Regions from separate parts of the Homo sapiens genome. Here region 1 is linked to region 2. The links are contacts of gene promoters, found by promoter capture Hi-C in blood cells and fetal thymus (Javierre and others, 2016). All regions are on one chromosome and are shown on one strand. Each heading gives the region's core, a stretch centred on a gene start or on the middle of the fragment in contact. The rest is flanking DNA. Distances are from core to core; before and after follow the strand shown. Region 1 has its middle 370 kb from the start of MIR7852. Region 2 holds the start of PRMT6 (protein arginine methyltransferase 6).

Region 1 (6,450 bases), core at 47-2,546, 470 kb after region 2:
AAGAGACTTTGCTAATAATAAAAATACTGTCAGTGTGGTTCATTAACAGTTTTTAATTGAGGTGACCTGTAGAAACTTACCAGCCAGTTTAAGTTCTAGTTCTGGCTTAAATGTCTCTTAAATCTACTTTCCCCATTACCCTTGGCTCTCCTTTCCTGAGAGAAGCCTTCACCTTCTTTCACCTGGACCTAAAACGACAACAGCCTTCAGTCTAATCATTCCAAACGCTTCCTCAACCCTCAGGTGCTAGAGTGACTTACCCTCAAACACAAAGCTCAGCATGCTGGCTTCATTAAAATTTTTTTTAGCAATGTAGCATTCAAACTCCTCCACATCCTGGCCCCACCTTACCAGTCACATGAGCCATGATCCAGCTACACTCCACTGCGTGCAAGTTCCACAACAGACTATTCCCTTCCACGTGCCTCTGCTGTGGCGAGATGCTAGTTGCCCCCGTAACTTGTTTTTCCTGTTTTTTTCATGGGTACAGAACCACCTTATTACAAGCATATTTCCCTGCCCCCCTTGAGGCTAGATGTGGTCATGTCAAAGTCAATGAAATATAAAGAAGTGTGCAATTTCTGCCTTCCTTACTATAATAAAGTAACTTACCCTGGACCACTTCTCCCTATTCTTCACACGGCTGGAAATGGCAAGCCAGCTGATGCTCCAGCAGTGTGAAAAATGCCTAGAGGATGGTGGAGCAACAAGTTGGAAGGACCATGGTCCCTGAATGACCTCATGGAGTAGGGCAGCCCCACCAGACTGCCTACCTTTAGACTATTATATGAGAGGAAAATGGACATCTATCTTTTCAAGTTACTGTACTGCAGATCTCTTTCTCACAGCAGCTTAGCTTTTACTGGAACAGACTTGCCTTCACATATTCTAATTCTTCAGGCTGCCCCATCCCTGTTCACTTGATGAGTTCCAATTTACATTGTTGTGAAGTACCACAATGCCCTCAGGACCAAGCGGAATGAATCCCCCTTTGCCTGTGCGCTCCATAGGACATTTACTTGATTGCATTGCCAGTGCCATACTGCTGTAATACGATTTTTGGCTTGCCGGATCCATGAGCAAGGTAAGCACCATTTTAAAATTTGTCTCTGAATCTCCAGGCCAAAGTCTAGCACATAGTAGGAGATCAGCATGTTTTCAAAGGTAAATAAATAAAAGCTTATCCCCTCACCTAGCTTAGCAGTAAGAAGCATCTGAAGAGTTAAGAAGTAGAACACAGAAAATTAGAAGAAAGAGATAAATGAAAGGGAAGAAACAGTGAGGCATAAGCCATGCCCTCTAGGTCTGCTGCAGCCTCAGCAGCACCCAGCTCTCTGTAGGAACTCAATAACCACAGATCGATTGAGCTCAACCTTTGCTTGTCATTACTGCTTCCTTCTGCCAGACCCCAAGGAAGCTTCTATAGAAAGTCGGTCCAGAGACTAAAAGAATAGTGAGGGGTGGTGTGTCAGATCAGCTGTTAATTAACAAATCATTCAAATCATGGAGTAAACAAATCTACATTAGAAGTATGCACAAGTTTCAGTGTATGGCTTTATTTTATATATTTTGGTTTATAAAATGTCTCATGATTATAGAATAGCTGTTAACTTAAAACCCACTTCTTTATTTCATCAGATTTTCAAACTGAAACTTTTAAAAGTGATTGATTCTCTGACTGATCCCATTTCTTTCCTATAGCCATGTCTATTCATGGTACTTTGGAAACACAGCACATGTTGCTTATGGAAACACACACTAAGATGAGAGCTAGGAAACTCAGTGGCCTTTAATTATTCAGGATTTAATCGTGCAAGCATGTACAATCAATATTTGTTGATCTTAATCTGATTACCTCCTAGTCGTGTTCAGCGTCTCCATCAACAGGATAACAATATGACACATTTCATAGACTTTCCCTAGGTTCTTCCAACAAGCTTATTGGAAGGATTTTAATCAGCTAATGAACTCGTCAATGGTATTTTCAGGAGCCAAGGCACCTTCCTGCACCTATATCCCATGACCATATTTGCCTGACATCTTGTGGCCACAAGGAGCATGACAGTCTATAAACCCAACATCTGTACACAGGGCAAGCAGCGTCTTTGAATGCTAATCCCTGCATCACAGTCAGAGCGAGTATAAAACTGCTTAAGAGATGTGTGACATGTAATTATTTCATCTAATTAAAATGGAAGCTAGGCTTTTCTTTTTATATTTATGAGGCAAGTTGGAACATGTGGGTCAATTCTTCTAAGGAAAGGAATGGGGTCTCTATCTGGGCTGAACATCTGGCTTGTTATCAACTACCTTGGCCACAGAACACTTTTCCTGTGAAAGGCCCACAAAAAACAGAATATGGCTCACTGGACTGAGAGAAGTAAGAGCATCTGTGGTCAGCTCCTCTGAGAGAGAGAGAGAGAGAGGATTTCGAGCTGGGATTGTTGGAACAAAGAACGCAGAATCCTCCGAGTAAAGAGACTGAAAAAAGGTTTCATCTTCAACACCACAATGGTATATTTTGCGTCTCATAAACTTGACTTTTTAGCACTAGAAACATTTTGTTTAAAGCCAAATTTAGGGTGGCATTATATAAATATAGAATAGAACAATAAAGGTGCTTTGATTGAAGCAGGGAGTCTGAGCGCCACTGGTTTAGCTTTTCTCTCCCACCCCCGCCACCACCCCAGACACATCCTCCAAACCCACACCTTTGAGGGCACAGTCTGACAACTGTTGAAAATATGGAAATTGTATTATATGTGAAATCAGAAGTCTTAGCTTTGTATCTCAACTCTACTCTTTAGTACCTGAGCATCATATAACAAGTCATTAACCTTTCTAAACCTCAGGGTTTTCATCTCTAAAGTAGGGAGAATAATATTTACTTCACAGGGTTATTGGGAACATTAAAAGAGGCAGTAAAATGAAGATGCTTTGTAATTGCTAGACAAATGATCACATTGCCATCATCAGACAGTCATAATGGGCAGTCACGCAACCAAGAGGAACGAGCTCCAGACAATGCCCTGCACTGTCTTCCTGCCAGGTTCTCATTCCTCCACGTTCCAGAGGCATTTACTGGAAGTCTTGATTCATGACTATGTCCCTGAGCAGCTTCGGATAGCAAAGACACAATGGAATACTCTGAACACAAGCATATAGGGCCTCTAAACACACATTGGTTCACCATTATTGCCTTGTTGACGAAGCATAGTTTTCCCGTTTCTCTTTTTCCCTGAATCTGTTACCCACCACCCCCCTTCGATTATTACCAAATCAGAAGATCTAGATTCGTGTATCTTTTTTTTATTATTTTTTTACCTGTTCTTTTTATTATTATTATACTTTAAGTTCTAGGGTACATGTGTACAACGTGCAGGTTTGATACATAGGTATACATGTGCCGTGTTGGTTTGCTGCACCCATCAACTCATCATTTACATTAGGTATTTCTCCTAATGCTATCCCTCCCCCAGAGAACATCGTGTACCTTAAAAGGTGTAGCTACTGAAGCCCAGAGAGGTTGTAACTTGTCTCTGAGCCTATAGCGAGTTTGTGACTAAGCTAGACTAGAATCCACTTCTCTTGTCACTCAAATGATCACCCAGCTGCCTGGGCTGCTTGTCTTATAAAGGATGCCAATCTATGTTAATGAAGGGTGGGAGGGGGCTAGTGTTGTACTGAAGAAATCCGATGGAGATAACCAGCAAGACGACTCCAGAATCACTCTTAGAAGCTGGATGACTGCAGGATAAAACAGCAGAGAAATTGAGCATTCACTTCCCTTGGGAATTGAATGAACGGGGAATAGAACATGTTCTGTCCACCAGGAAGAGGATCAGTTTATTTCTAGGTGTTTCTGAGAGATGAGTAATTGTGACTGGGCAGCAGTAGGATACCACCCCTTCAAGCCCATGACTCTGCGCATCCCCAGGCCCATGAGTGTGTGATACCAGATGAGAAGGAGAAGCAGGAGGCCTTGCCACCATGACAGCCAGCTGGGTGTTATCAGTGAGCTAGGACGCAAACTGTCAATCACAGAAGACATGGCTTATCCCACAGCACACCTTTCATACATGAGAATAAATTCTCAAGAAAAAGTGTATCATTTCCGATGGAGAACTTTTACACATAAACTGTCTGATGCGCTCTCCTGACCCAAAAAGAGGAAACGAATAGCACCCAATATCCTACCAAATCCTCCTTCAAGGCTGAAAATTATGTGGTTCTAATGTGCCATTAAAGGTAATTTAAAAGAAAATGGCTGTTTAATTTAGAGATCATTTCTGGCAAGGCTGAGACCTGTCTTCACCAGCATTTGAAGCTATTATATAAACCACCAAAATCAGAACTACAGGCAATCTTGTCTATTCATGGGCCAGGCATGTGTGCCTTTTTCTCTCATGCTCTTTAATATTTGCTATTTCTTTTATTTGAACCCAAAGGAGAAAAATCTCAGTTGCAGAAATAGAACATGAATTCAGTAGAGTGTTTTTTTTTCTTTTCTTTTTCTTTTTTTTTTTTTAAGAGAGAGACTTCAGAGGCAAGATGATAAATGGCTAATAAGAAACAGGGGTGCCTAGGGGCTTGCAAGGAGGGGGCTGACCATGCACGTGAGAATTCAGGATTCAGTGATAGGGAGCTGCTGTTTCAGCCCTCAAAGAAGAAGCTATCGATTCATTTTTAAGGCAAACAAGTTGGATCCTGGGGACTGCTGAAGGTGAAGCAGCAGCTTCTCTGAGCCTGCCACACTGGGTGACCTTTGCATGGGGCCACAGAAAGAACAATGGCAAGGCAACACTCCTAAATTAGTCATCGGTGCTGTTTGATTTGCTCCTGTGCCAGATGTTCCCTCATTGATCACTGCCTGGCCCATATGTCCTCTCTGAACAGGGGAGCGAGTGGAGCCAGCAGCCGCCACTTCAGAAGCAGCCACCAGAGCGGGCTAATGGAGTCCTTGGCAGGAGGTTGCCATCTGATTGGTTTGCCACTGTTTCTCTTAGAGATCAAGGGCATTATACAGGCAGCACACCTGCCCACTCTCAGGGCCAGGCTCCGGGCAGTCAGGCAGCCTCAATTCCTGAAAGGCCCTGGTGAGCTTCCCAGAACCCCTCAGCAGCGTCCCTGGCCCTCTCACTCTTTTCGTCCCTGTCACAAGAAGCCCCTGTGGCATTTGTTAAACAGCCATTGCCATGTTCAAAGTGAGGCTCAACTTGGCCTGCAGTTTTTCTGTTCTTATTGCTTCTGAGCGGAGGACTGGGGGGCACTCTGCCCTTCTCCGACTTAAGGGTGGAGAGGGATCACAATTTTAAGCCAGCAGGTAGAGGAAAGAGACTGGAGAGCTGCTCATCAGGGATGTTGGCTGGCTTGTCCTTTTATATCACTAAGAACTGCCATGTGGATATAAGAGGCAAGGACACCTTTCCCAGCTTCTCATGAGGCCTGTAAGAAACATCCCTTTTATCTGCCCTCATCATCCCATTCTTCGGGAAACCCTGCTTCCAGCCATTCTTGGGTACCTTGATCAGACTGGCCAATCAGAGAACCTCTCTATAATTTCTAAACCAATGCTGGGCAGAGAGTGAGCTCCGTTCCCGGGGAGGGAGTTATGGGGTGTGAGGCCCAGGATCCATCAGTATCTTGTGGGAGAAGTCAGAGTGCTCCAGCGAGGATAGGCAGACACTAGCAAGGATCCAGCATGGACCTGAGTCAGGGGCCCCTGAGGACCAACTGCAGCTCTACCTTCCTGTTTGGCTGCCAGATCCTTCCTTCAATTACATAGGATGCTCCCATATCCTTCCTGTAATTTACTATTTGTGCCAAGGCTGTTTTGAGTTTCTGTCACTTGCGTCTAAAAGAGTCTGGACAAATAAGTGGATCAAATAAAAGGGGAACAGGACAGTACCCTGAATCACCATGATTTTGAAACCCAACTCTCTGACTAACCAATCTGCCAAAAATAGATTCCTCAAATAATCTATTTGCCAGAAGAACTCATCACAAAACAGAATGTCCCCACGCTTTTTTTTAGCCATGTCTTTTCTGAGGCTACTTTAGCATTTTGCTCATTTAGCTATGATGTCTATCAGATTCTTCTAAATTGAATGTCAATTTCTTCTAGATTTCACTTCTTCAGTGCCTAGGGCGTCCTGAGCATAGAAGTTCTGTATCAATTGGATGAGTTTCTCTTTGATACCGTTTGCTCCCTCTCTGACTCGGGAAGTGTGCCCATTTTCTGCCTACTTCTCCACTTCATCAGCTCCTAACTTGTGCCTGTCTTTGCCCTTCACCTTGCTTGCCCTTGCCCACAAAATGGCTGTGACAAGCTGTTCTATGTCCAGTTAAAATCCGTATCTGACCAACTGTAGTAATTTTAGTAATATAGCAAGCCAGCTATTGTATGAATTGGATTTGAAAAAGTGTTTCCCAGTGATTTGACCAAGATGC
Region 2 (6,752 bases), core at 294-2,793:
TTAGAAGTAGAGTACAGCTAAGGATGCCATATCAATAAACCTATTCTGCTAATGAAAGATTAATAGAGAAAATAGGATGAAAGAACTTTGATCCCAGACAAGGAATACAGGCCTATTGGTTACAAGGACATAATTCAAGACCACAAGAAAATAAAAATCCATTTTACTCTGAGTGACTTTTTTTTCAAGCTGGCAGAAAATGGCATTATGCCCACCTTGTTAATAACACGGACACCCATACAGATGCCACACATATTTAAAAACATATTTTATTTCCATTATGGACAACAAAAAGAGAGTAACAGCTGATGGTTGACTACAAGAAAAATATAAGAGAAAGAGGAGAGTGTCAATATTGCCCGGACAAGAAAACACAGGAAAAAATGAATTGCATTGAGAAAGTGATTAAAAGAAATTGATTCCGTTATTTCTGAGAGAAAAAAACGCATATATATATAGAATACACCTAGCAACGAGTTTGCTTGTATCACATGGCTCTTGAGTCTGCACTTTTCAGGATTTAACTCTTAAGAGAGCCACAGAATTATCAGAGCAGAGCCGAAAGCCAAGTAACTATTCTTCTAAGTAGAACCAGAAACCTAGTTCTTCCCCAACTGCAATGAAGATTCGCTGGTGGGTGAATGGGCAACTAAAGGCCAGAGAAGTTCTATTATTTGCCCTAAATCACTCAACTAATTAGTGGTCATACTGGAATCAGAACCAAGATTTTGCATTGTTAGGTTTTAATTTTGTTACATTTGCACTCTAACTGCACTGAAAACAGAAAAAAGAAATGCGTAGTGCAGTTTCTAAATTGCCACAGCTGGAGCACTTTAAGAGCTACAATTGTCCAGTTAAGGCGGTAGTGGGTGGATGGTGCTGCCATGTTAATTCGGTGGAATAAAACCAGAGGTGAGTTAGGCCGGGCGCGGTGGCTCACGCTTGTAATCCCAGCACTTTGGGAGGCCGAGGTGGGCGGATCACCTGAGGTCGCGAGTTTGAGACCAGCCTGACCAACAGGGAGAAACCCCGTCTACCAAAAATACAAAATTAGCCGGCCCTGGTGGCATGCGCCCGTAATCCCAGCAACTCGGGAGGCTGAGGCAGGAGAATCGCTTGAACCCAGGAGGCGGAGGTTGCGGTGAGCGGAGATCGCGCCATTGCACTCCAGCCTGGGAAACAAGAGCGAAACTCCCTCTCAAAAAAAACAAAAAACAGAAAAACAAACAAAAAAAACAGAGGTGAGTTCAGCAGAAGAAACAAAGGTGGATTATTAGTCTTAAGTGTGCGTGCCTACTTCAGGAAGGGAGTGAAAGCAAAAAACTGAGGAGCTAAGGGTGGGAGGGGGAATGAAAGGATCTCAGAATGTGGGCGTCGTGGGTGGGAAAAGGGATGCCAGGACACCAGAAGAGCAATACAAAACAGCTCCCGTGAGCAGGCACAGGAGACCTTCCGCGCCGCCGGCCGGGCGACCCCGCAGGAAGTAGGAAGGACGAGCGCGCACTACAAGTCCCAGAAGCCCCCGTTTCCTGGAGCCCGCGCCGTGCCGCGCTACGCCCGCCGGGAGCCGGGCAGAGCGGCCAAGATGTCGCAGCCCAAGAAAAGAAAGCTTGAGTCGGGGGGCGGCGGCGAAGGAGGGGAGGGAACTGAAGAGGAAGATGGCGCGGAGCGGGAGGCGGCCCTGGAGCGACCCCGGAGGACTAAGCGGGAACGGGACCAGCTGTACTACGAGTGCTACTCGGACGTTTCGGTCCACGAGGAGATGATCGCGGACCGCGTCCGCACCGATGCCTACCGCCTGGGTATCCTTCGGAACTGGGCAGCACTGCGAGGCAAGACGGTACTGGACGTGGGCGCGGGCACCGGCATTCTGAGCATCTTCTGTGCCCAGGCCGGGGCCCGGCGCGTGTACGCGGTAGAGGCCAGCGCCATCTGGCAACAGGCCCGGGAGGTGGTGCGGTTCAACGGGCTGGAGGACCGGGTGCACGTCCTGCCGGGACCAGTGGAGACTGTAGAGTTGCCGGAACAGGTGGATGCCATCGTGAGCGAGTGGATGGGCTACGGACTCCTGCACGAGTCCATGCTGAGCTCCGTCCTCCACGCGCGAACCAAGTGGCTGAAGGAGGGCGGTCTTCTCCTGCCGGCCTCCGCCGAGCTCTTCATAGCCCCCATCAGCGACCAGATGCTGGAATGGCGCCTGGGCTTCTGGAGCCAGGTGAAGCAGCACTATGGTGTGGACATGAGCTGCCTGGAGGGCTTCGCCACGCGCTGTCTCATGGGCCACTCGGAGATCGTTGTGCAGGGATTGTCCGGCGAGGACGTGCTGGCCCGGCCGCAGCGCTTTGCTCAGCTAGAGCTCTCCCGCGCCGGCTTGGAGCAGGAGCTGGAGGCCGGAGTGGGCGGGCGCTTCCGCTGCAGCTGCTATGGCTCGGCGCCCATGCATGGCTTTGCCATCTGGTTCCAGGTGACCTTCCCTGGAGGGGAGTCGGAGAAACCCCTGGTGCTGTCCACCTCGCCTTTTCACCCGGCCACTCACTGGAAACAGGCGCTCCTCTACCTGAACGAGCCGGTGCAAGTGGAGCAAGACACGGACGTTTCAGGAGAGATCACGCTGCTGCCCTCCCGGGACAACCCCCGTCGCCTGCGCGTGCTGCTGCGCTACAAAGTGGGAGACCAGGAGGAGAAGACCAAAGACTTTGCCATGGAGGACTGAGCGTTGCCTTTTCTCCCAGCTACCTCCCAAAGCAGCCTGACCTGCGTGGGAGAGGCGTAGCGAGGTCGGAGGGGAAAGGGAGATCCCACGTGCAAGTAGGGGGAATATCTCCCCCTTTTCCCTCATAGCCTCTAGGGAGGGAGAGTGACTTCATTCTCCATTTGAAGAGATTCTTCTGGTGATGTTTACTTAAAAAGTGATCCCCCTCAACAACGGATACAGCGTGCTTATTATTGGGCATTTAGCCTCAAAAGCATGTAGTACCAAGCACTTGTATTTCCGTATATTTTGTTTCGCGGGGGAGTGAGGGGGAAGAACACGGATGAAAATGTCAGTTTTTGAAGGGTCCATGCACATCCCTGACACCTCACACCTTATCTAAGTCTGAAGCTGGGGAGAAAGGGGTTCATTTAGACTTCATACATTTCCAGTACGACTTTAGTATCTCTCCAGAGCCATATTTTCTCAGTCCGAATTAATTCCCCCTCCCTAGGTGCCTGTAGGCTATGGTACTTCTTCCTCATTGTTTTCTAGGTAAACTTCACTACTGGTAATTAAGGGGAAGGATATGAGGAAGCAGTTTAAATAGCCCTGTTCTCATTACTCTGACCACATACATCATAGGGTGCTAAAGTTGATGAACACATTAATCCGTTAAGTAAAATGGACTTTGTAATTGTACAGCATACCTAAGAAACTCAGAAGGTGCATTTAAGAGAGAGACCTGAAAGAAATAGTATGGATTTTTAAAAATTCTTGTCTCTACTATTATAACCAAAAAATATTTCTTGTATGTCCCATAAAAATATTTGTGTAATTCTTATGAAACAGGCTGGTAGAGGAGGTTTCTGAGCCTAGCCCAAGGGCTTATTCATCACCATGGGTAAATTATTTAAACTCACTTAATTAAGGAAAATATTTTCCCAGCTAGAAAAGTATACTCATTCTCATTTAAACTCTCTCATTTGGAGGGATCATGTGAGTTGGCCTACTTACAAGTAGTGAAAGTTCCCTTTTCAGTTTTGTTTTGTTTTGTTTTGTTTTTCTCTTTCACTCAGCCAAATGTGAAAGTTGTGAATTTAGGAAAATCACTTGTAATGAAGTGTGAATCTTGTTATCAAATTTATTTCTCTGATGTTTCCTTCCTTATCCTTGTAGCCAATAAAACATTGACATTCTCACGTTTTATAGATGAGGTAAAAAGTCTTGTGTGCTGTGAGTTATAATGCTTTTGCCTTTTTAATATTATTAGTTCTTAAGTGTTACAGCCCCTTCAGAATATAACTTCAGGACAATTCAAACTATGCTTAATGTATGATTTTCGAGCTTCTGTATGCTAAGAAAATAGGTGTGAAAAACTGGTGTTCTGAAATAGCCTAACATTTATTGTAATTCTGAATTTTCTGCCCTTTTATTCATTGCATATTAAAGTATTAGAGTATAAAAACTAATTTGCTAAACTTTGGTTGTATATAACACAGATCTTCCATCATGGAGAGATATACATGTACAAAATTATCAATTTACAAGATAATTGAGTAGCAAGCAGTACAGTTGTAACCGTCACCATTTTGATGCTAAGATAGTGATCATCTCATGTAAATGCTACAGTCACAGCAAGCTAGACTTAAGCTAGAGGGAAAATAGAGCTCCTTATAAGGTGTTCTATGTTTTAAATCAAATATTTATTTAGAGTTTGAGTGTGTGATTTTGAGTAGGTTTCTGGTGGTTTGGTTTGTTTTTTAAAAAAAACTTGATTTAACAATTCCTTTACTAAGTGATAAATGAGAATATTCTTCCAAATTCTATTTTTTATATATTTGATAAATACTATAGAGTTATCATTATCAGTATAAGCACATAAAGGGAACCTCAGTTAAAACTTGGAGGAACTATAGAAGTAAAGGGTATGTATTCCATAGTTAAAGTAAGCTTCAGGATTTTTATTACTCCTTCCCAGAAGAAAAATGAATTATAAAAATACAGCGACTGAAGCAATTAGTCAAGAGTTAGCATAACATAATGGCTACAAAATTGGACTCTGGAGCCAGACAGCCCATAGTAGAACCTAGGCTCCACCACTCTTTGTGACCTTGGGCAAAATATTAAACACCTTTTTTTCCTTCAAAATGGAGGAAATTCCTCTCGTATGCAAAATGGAGATAACAATAGTACCTATGTCATAGATGTGAGAATAGAATGAGTTAATACATGTGACTACATAATGTCTGGTATGTAATAAGATCTCAATAAAGCCTCAGTGTGGTAGTTAGGGAAAAGTCAAACCTGGAGCACTTGGATGCATGCAAAATGTGTGACAGAATAAATATTCAACATTTTGATTTTTTTTACAGGTATTCAACAGTATGTGGTTGTACGTGAGGAGCAATGTATGACACTGTACACCAAATGATCCAAAGGGAATTCAAGACCTCTGGAGTGAGGACACCTCCAGAAGGATGAAGGTGTAAGATGTATCAACATCCAGGCACTGTCCAATCTGTCTGTATGGACTGGTACTGACTGCTTGGTGCCATTGGACCACAGGCAGGAACTACCAGGCCCAAAGGAGAGGAAAACATGGTAAAGTTCAACCTGCTTCCCTCAAACAACTTACATTTATTTTGCGCTGTGAAAGTTTACAAATATTTTCATTAATTCATTGGACCAATGGACATTTTATTGAGTATACAATGCAACAGTCATTGTGATAAGCATTTAGGATACAAACCAACAAAACACAGTTTCTTCCTTCAAATGATATGTTCATAAGATAAAATGGTAAGTACAATAAATGATAATGGGCTAAAGACTGGGATGGTCTTGGTGTTAGAAAGGGCAAGTAATTAACTCAATTTACATACCAGGAACAAGAGTTATACAGATATTGAAGGACTTGGCCTAAGTTTACATAGCTAATTCTTGGCTTTTAATTCCTAACTCCAAACAAAAATTCACATGTTTATTATATTAATCTTGCCTGCTTCAATTAAAAACAGAAGTGGGCACGGTGGCTCACGCCTGTAATCCCAGCACTTTGGGAGGCCGAGGCGGGCGGATCACCAGGTCAGGAGATCAAGACCATCCTGGCTAACACGGTGAAACCCCGTCTCTACTAAAAATACAAAAAATTAGCCGGGCATGGTGGCGGGTGCCTGTAGTCCCAGCAACTCGGGAGGCTGAGGCAGGAGAATGGCGTGAACCTGGGAGGCCGAGCTTGCAGTGAGCCAAGATAGTGCCATTGCACTCTAGCCTGGGTGACAGAGCAAGACTCTGTCTCAAAAAAATAAAAAAAAATAAAACACAGAAGTACGTACCTCCTGAATGAGTGACAACAGTTTTTATTGTTTGATGAATGAAGGAATGGGAAACATCCTTAGCTTAAGGAAGTCTCTATTAAAGATGTATCTCATAGGCCTCAAAGAACCACTTTCAGTGTATAGGATCTCACACTTGACAACTACTAGGCACTCATTGACATAAATACCCCCATACCAATTTTCCCAACAGTTAGTCAATTGCGGCACTCTCTGAGGCCCCCAGAAAACTGACTCCTCAAAATAGTAGCAAAGGTAGATGAACTCACAGGTGCTTGGTGCTGAGGAGCAGAGGCATCTGATGAGGCTAAAAGTGGGCAGGAGTGAAAAAAAGGTGAGTATGAAAGACACCTCCAGCAAACAAAACTGGCTAACGTTTTGCTTATAGCCATCCTTGTTAGCATCTTCACACTTTATACCACCCAATGCTGAGGAGAGATGAATCAGTCAAGGAGGCCCCCCTCCTCCCATATGTACATGTTTTTACCCATTCATTTCATGATTTAGTAAACACCAACTATAAAACATTCAAGTTCTATCATAAGCAAATCCTACCCTCTAAAAACTAGTATACAGTATGGGAAATAAAATTACCTATATCAGTTCAGTAATTTGCATCCTTAGCCTGGAAAGACTGTCAGGGCCAAGGGAAAAGTTCTCTGTGGCCCTCCGAAGTTTCTCTGAGAAGTCAACTCACAAATGCAAATTAATTGGAGAAAAGG

What was found. Contacts are between HindIII fragments. The CHiCAGO score rates a contact against its expected background, and 5 or more counts as called.
Region 1: a fragment that was not itself captured here is called in contact with the fragment with the promoter of PRMT6 in region 2 in 4 of 17 cell types (naive B cells, total B cells, fetal thymus and 1 more); the score reaches 8.9 in naive B cells.

The regions. Positions count from the first base shown.
Region 1 is chr1:107,527,698-107,534,147 of GRCh38, forward strand. No RefSeq gene overlaps it. Among named protein-coding and RNA genes, the nearest start is that of MIR7852, 370 kb to the right of the region's middle. The HindIII fragment of the contact is 238 bases long and covers 1,178-1,415 here.
Region 2 is chr1:107,055,131-107,061,882 of GRCh38, forward strand. PRMT6 (protein arginine methyltransferase 6) reads left to right here and starts at 1,544. Exons shown (of 1, transcript NM_018137.3): 1 at 1,544-4,164. The coding sequence starts at 1,586. The coding sequence ends at 2,713. RefSeq lists enhancers at 1,776-1,825, 1,846-1,985, 1,996-2,125, 2,136-2,345. The HindIII fragment of the contact is 2,330 bases long and covers 1-1,607 here.